2 separate regions of the Homo sapiens genome follow, and region 2 is linked to region 1. The links are contacts of gene promoters, found by promoter capture Hi-C in human tissues and cell types (Jung and others, 2019). All regions are on one chromosome and are shown on one strand. Each heading gives the region's core, a stretch centred on a gene start or on the middle of the fragment in contact. The rest is flanking DNA. Distances are from core to core; before and after follow the strand shown. Region 1 holds the start of GPC6 (glypican 6). Region 2 overlaps GPC6 (glypican 6).

Region 1 (2,797 bases), core at 196-2,695:
AGCCCGTGAAGTCCCCAAACCAGCCTTGAAACGCCGGCGTCCAGAGGCCAGGTCCCCGGCGAGGGTCCCTCCCAGCCTTGCCCGCCCCCGGCCCGAGCGCCGGGCGCTCTGTCGCCCGAAGGACGGATAGGGGAGAGAGGGGCTGGGGGAGCCCTCCGCGTCTCTCCACCGCCCCTGCCGGCGCAAGGGCGGGAGTGGAGAAGGCGCCACTCAGACTGTGGCGCTGGGCAAACTGCGGTCGCAGTTCTTCCAAGTTTGCCCGAACCAGAACGCGGAGTGAGCGCCCGGCTCGGCTCTCCGTCTGCGCCTTGCAGCCGCCCCGGAGTGACCCGGGCTCCCTGGCCAGCCGGGCCTGAGCCATCAACTAAGGGGTAGAAGGGCGCGAGAGCAGCGGGAGGCGGGAGCCAGGGTGCTCCCGCGTGTGCACACAATGAGGCGGCGGAGACGCACACCTTCCCCCGCCGAAGAAGCCGCAGGAGCATCCGCCGCCCAACACGGAGACGCGGAGTCCCATAGCGGTGGCAGAAAGTGAGCACCAACTCAGCAACAGGGGGAAGGAAGGGGACGCCGGGCGGCCAGTGGGACGTGCGGCAGCCGAGGGCTGCAGCCTGCCCCTGCAGCGCGCCCGCGCTTACCTGCGATCTCCTGGTAGGGGATGTCCGCCAGGCTGAATCCCTTGGCACCGTACGCCTGGCGGACCTCTCCGCAGCTCCGAGCCTTCACATCCGCCCCGGCGGGGAGGGAGAGCAGCAGCCCCAAGAGGGGAAGAATCACAGCCCCGATCCAAGAAGGCATGGTGCAACATACAAATCCAGCTCGGTAAACCCCACGGCCGGTGCGCTCTTCACCTTGCCCCTCAAGCCGAAAGCCCGCCAGAGGCAGCGGCGCGCTCCTCGCCGCTGCCCAGCGTCACCCCCTTCTGCCAGCCGAGGGGACGAGCAGCGCAGCCCTCTGGACTGCGCTCAGCAAACTTTTATAAGCCAGATGGACGATGGCAAGCCAACAAGGGCTGGCTGGGAAGGCTGCTGCCTTGCTCCTCTAGCCCCCAGATGGAAACGGTGCAATCAAAACGAGGAAGAGAAGGAAAAGAAGTGTTTAAAAAACCACCATGGGGGTTCAGAGCTGCAATCCGAGTTCCGAGCCGCAGAATCCTGGAGCGCTGCGGGCTCGGCTCGCCGGAGTGTGCGGCAAAGGTGGGAGCGCGCGCCGGCTCCCCCGGGAGGGAGATGGACAAGCGAGAGCGAGTGTGTATGCGCGCGTGTGTCTGTTGGTGTGAGCTCGAGGTTCTTGGGGATGTGTGTGCGTGGAGGTATGTGTTGGGGATATACGAGATCTAGGGGAAACCTCAGCTTAACACAGGCTGTGGGAGCCTGTGAGAGTCCTCCTGAAATAGGAAGAGAGAAATCCTGGAGACAGTCACTGGAGGCAAGAGGGAAGGAGAAAGGAGGGGGGAGAAAGAAACGTGCTACACATTGCACAGCCGAAATTCACAGGCCGAGTCAAAGGCAAAACCTGGACTGGATCTCTTCCTAGTCGGTAGAAAGGGGAAAAAAAGAAAAAGAAACGTACCTATTTTCTTATTCACTTCACATCCTTTATACCGATCTGAAATGACATCAATAAACAATCTAGAAAGACAAGGTAATTTTAAGTCATTAACATGTTATTAAGCTGTATTTTTATGGAGGTAAAGGATAACGCAGTTCCAATTGTTGCTCTTAATATGTGTCCCTGACCTACTGAAACACAAAGCCAGAGTGGAAATAGTCATAGACGGGAGTTCATGGGTGGCAGAGCACAATCACGGCTCTAACTAGTTGCCTAATTTCTGTTTGACTTTGTTTTTTTCTAAAGGCACACATTACAGACTGGTAGTTCTTAATTTTTAAAGGTTTGGTTCTAGACTCAACAATTTCCCCTTTTTTTATTTCAAATATCTCATAGCCTTCGATCAGAAATCATTATGCTTAGGTTTCTAATGTGTGGAGGATCGGGAAAGCTAACAACCAGACCACAGAAGCAACAAGAAAAGGAGAGCACAAGGGTCAGAGGTGCATAAAGGGACATAATGGGGGAAGGGAGGTGATTCCTTCCCTCTCACTAGATGCCCTCACATAGTAGACTTAACATTTTCTTCCAAGTTAACATAATTCTCAAGTGGAGAATCAATCCAATTTCTTCTTCCTGTCTCCATTTACACTGATGTTCTGTGAACGGGATAAAAGTGAAAATTCAGGTTTGCCTAATTGACTTTGTTATGCTAATGGACGCACTAAAGTCAGCTGGCAGAAGTGTGTGTTGAAACCCAGAGCTCCTGAAACTACTAAGATAGTTTAATGAAAACCAAGACAAAATAATAATAATAATAGTGTTTATTCACTTACGTGGCTATGTGTCATAGGTCAGCACATTATTCACAAACTACTACAAGGTAATGCACAGTTTTGTGGAGCTCACCTATGAAGCTACACATGAAGATGTTTTCCTGATGATGATATGAATGACCAGAATGACTCATGAAGTTTAAATCTTTGAGTTTGTCATTATCATCACAACATATTAGGTACATTGTCTTCCTCTCTTTAATAAATTCCCCCTCTCCTAACCACCAAAAAGACTCTCAAGATTCAACCTCATTTAACCTTTCCAAACGCTTTAAAAATGAAGTCGACTTATTTACAGAGCCACTTTGTCTTCTTCAAACTCATAGGTCAAGACAAAACAAAACCAAAAAAAAAAAAAACAAAACAAAACAAAAAAAAAAACTCCATAGCTAAATCTTTCTGAAAACGCAACA
Region 2 (2,797 bases), core at 164-2,663, 580 kb before region 1:
AGGAGTTCTGTGTTTAATTACATACAGTTCATATTAACAATATGTAAGTTCAAAGTCTGTCACAGTGGCTGGCATTTGTATTTTTTGACAGGAACTAAAACTTTAAAAATTGAATGAAATATTTCAGCTCACATTAAAGGAAACTTAGTTATCCAACAGATTATTTGGAAGACAAATGTTGAGGATAGAAGACCTTGGCTGAAAGCATCTCATATAGAGAGAGGAGTTATTATGTACTTAAAGATCAGGCTAATTCTTACAATTTACATGATATTTTTTCCCTTTTCCTTTGTGTATACCTGTTAAATTAGCACTTGGAGTCTTTAGATAAGGCTCTTTACAAGAGCATGTGTGATCTTTACATGTGTCATCTTTACAAGAAATATATTTTGTGTAATATTCAGAATAGGATGAAAATGTTCTAATTTTTAAAATTGTTTTTACAACTTACACATAGAGCTATATAGTGTATAGTAATAACTATCCCATTAATCTAAATTAATCTAGTCTTTGCTGAATAAAATGTTAACATTTAGAACTGAGGTTTTATAACCAAGAAATTATTTGGCCTCCTTTGTATTATACAGACACTAGGGTGACTCAGGAAAGTGAAGTGTAAGTGGCCTACTTAATTTCATAAGTACAATGTTGTCTAAGTCACCCATCTACTCTTCATTAAGTCAGACTCATAATTTAAAACAAAATTATAATTCCTTAAACTGTTGCCTTTAGGGGAGTGACCGATGTCCCAGAAACCTCTTTGTCATGGATACAGATTACTGAAGACAGCATAGCACTGAATTAGAAGGGAAAGGGTCTTGAGTTTCCAGTATGTTCAAGTATATAACCTTTTGTAAGACATTTGATTATCTGTGAATTTATTTATCGCAAGTGAGTCTACTACTACCCTACGGGAGTCTACCATACACCAGTGTCAAGCCGTCACAGCCTTGAAGTATTTCTATCAAGCATTGAGTGTTTTTCAAGAGGAAGTGGACAGAAAGAATGCAAAAGTCATTGGCCTCTGTTAGACCAGTGGCTCTCAAAGTGTGTTCCCTGGATCAGTGGTGTCAGAACCAACCGGAAACTTGTTGGAATGTAAGTTCTTGCCTTCATGCCATTTTGTCTGAATCAGTAACTCCAGTTCAGGCACATCACACACTTCCCATGCCCACTAAAACTACTGACAATTTCATTTGGCCAGCCTCTGTATGTGGTACTTTCAACAACTAATTGACTTTATCAAATTCCCCTGAGGAATTACGTCTTGGGAATCTGTGCTTACCTTCTGAATTTGTCCACAAATCTTTAAATTTTCTAACACCCAAAAGAGATCTTTCCTTAAATCTCACCTTTCTATAATCCCAGTCATTTTTATTCATTAGTGGAGAACACCTGTAACAGCAGGAGCTACTTACATTTTAATTGTTTCTTGTTCCTCTAAATTGCTTGTCATTATAAAAGAAATGACAGAAGTGAAACGGGAGAAGAGCAATGTGGCAAGAAGTGTAAAGCCCATTTCCAGTGTTTAATTGCTATACAATGCTAAGAACAGATTAAAAAGATAAATCAAAAGTTTGCTGAAAAAAGTGAGGCCCCCAGTCAGTTTTATGGTTTCATTTGAGCTGCAAAGATATTATTATACACTCATTTACAAAACAATAAGCTCTTACTGTTTATGAAAGTTTAATCTCTTGGTTTATTGCCTTAATATATTTCACATTGGTAAGGTTTACTTTTAAATGAAATTTCTGACTGTCTTATGTTGATGTTATTTTATACTGAGAATACAGACAGGATGAGTATAACATCATAATTGTATTCATCTATGAAGCAATTAGAGTCAGGGTAATTGCTTCTAGTTCTCACATATCTGCATACAAAGTAATAGAATTAATATTTTATCATTTGGCAGTATCCCTTGTTAGCTAAGAATCCTAACATTGTATATTTTATCTGTCTGTCCACAGGAATTTAAGCAAAACCTAGATTAATATTTACCTCAATCTAGAACTGTGCCAAGTGGGCCGGATGTGGTGACTCACACCTGTAATCCCAGAATTTTGGGAAGCCAAGGAGGGCAGATCACCTGAGGTCAGGAGTTCGAGACCAGCCTGGCCAACATGGTGAAACCCCATCTCTACTAAAAATACAAAAATTAGCTGGCCATGGTGGTATGTACACCTTTAATCCCAGCTACTTGGGAGACTGAGGCGGGAGAATTGTTTGAACTCAGGAGGCAGAGGTTGCAGTGAGCCGCGACTGCGCCATTGCCCTCCAGCCTGGGTGACAAGAGTAAAACTCCATCTCAAATAAAAAATAAAAATGAATAAAATTGTGGCAAGTGAAAAAAAAATTATACGTTGTCCCCATTGCTCAACATATGCATCCAGCCAATGCACAATGGAACAGAGGCCCATGAACATACTCTCCAAATTGAGTAGACTAATGACAACCAAGGTGTGGCTTAAGAACCTCTCCTCCATTCCCGGTTATTTTCCAAGTGATCTCAAGGTTGCCAGTAAGCATGCATTCCATGGTGTTCAAAGAAAAGCATTCTTATTCAAAATATGTGTAGCTGATTTAATACTGAAATTTCTATAAAAACATCTTTACAGGTTTCTACAAAGAGAAAATTGAAAGAGCCAAAGAAGGAGAGCACAGTGACCTAAGGCATAGCGTGGTGAATGACTGACGAGACTCAAATCCTCAGCCAGAATCCACAGGACTAAGAAGGGCTAAATGAGGACTTATAGCCTCATTTATTTTCTAAGAAGCTTAGGCTACAGGGAAAGAA

The links. The method cuts DNA at HindIII sites, captures the fragments that hold promoters and counts their contacts. A contact is called where the count stands out against the background at its distance.
Region 2: a fragment that was not itself captured here is called in contact with the fragment with the promoter of GPC6 in region 1 in 2 of the 25 tissues and cell types used here (mesenchymal stem cells and pancreas).

What each region holds. Positions count from the first base shown.
Region 1 is chr13:93,225,455-93,228,251 of GRCh38, reverse strand. It overlaps GPC6 (glypican 6), which reads right to left and starts at 1,445. Exons shown (of 9, transcript NM_005708.5): 1 at 636-1,445. The coding sequence starts at 795. RefSeq lists an enhancer at 10-852. The HindIII fragment of the contact is 15,285 bases long and covers 1-2,797 here.
Region 2 is chr13:93,805,868-93,808,664 of GRCh38, reverse strand. All of the region lies in intron 2 of GPC6 (glypican 6), which reads right to left. Among named protein-coding and RNA genes, the nearest start is that of GPC6-AS2, 51 kb to the left of the region's middle. The HindIII fragment of the contact is 5,761 bases long and covers 1-2,797 here.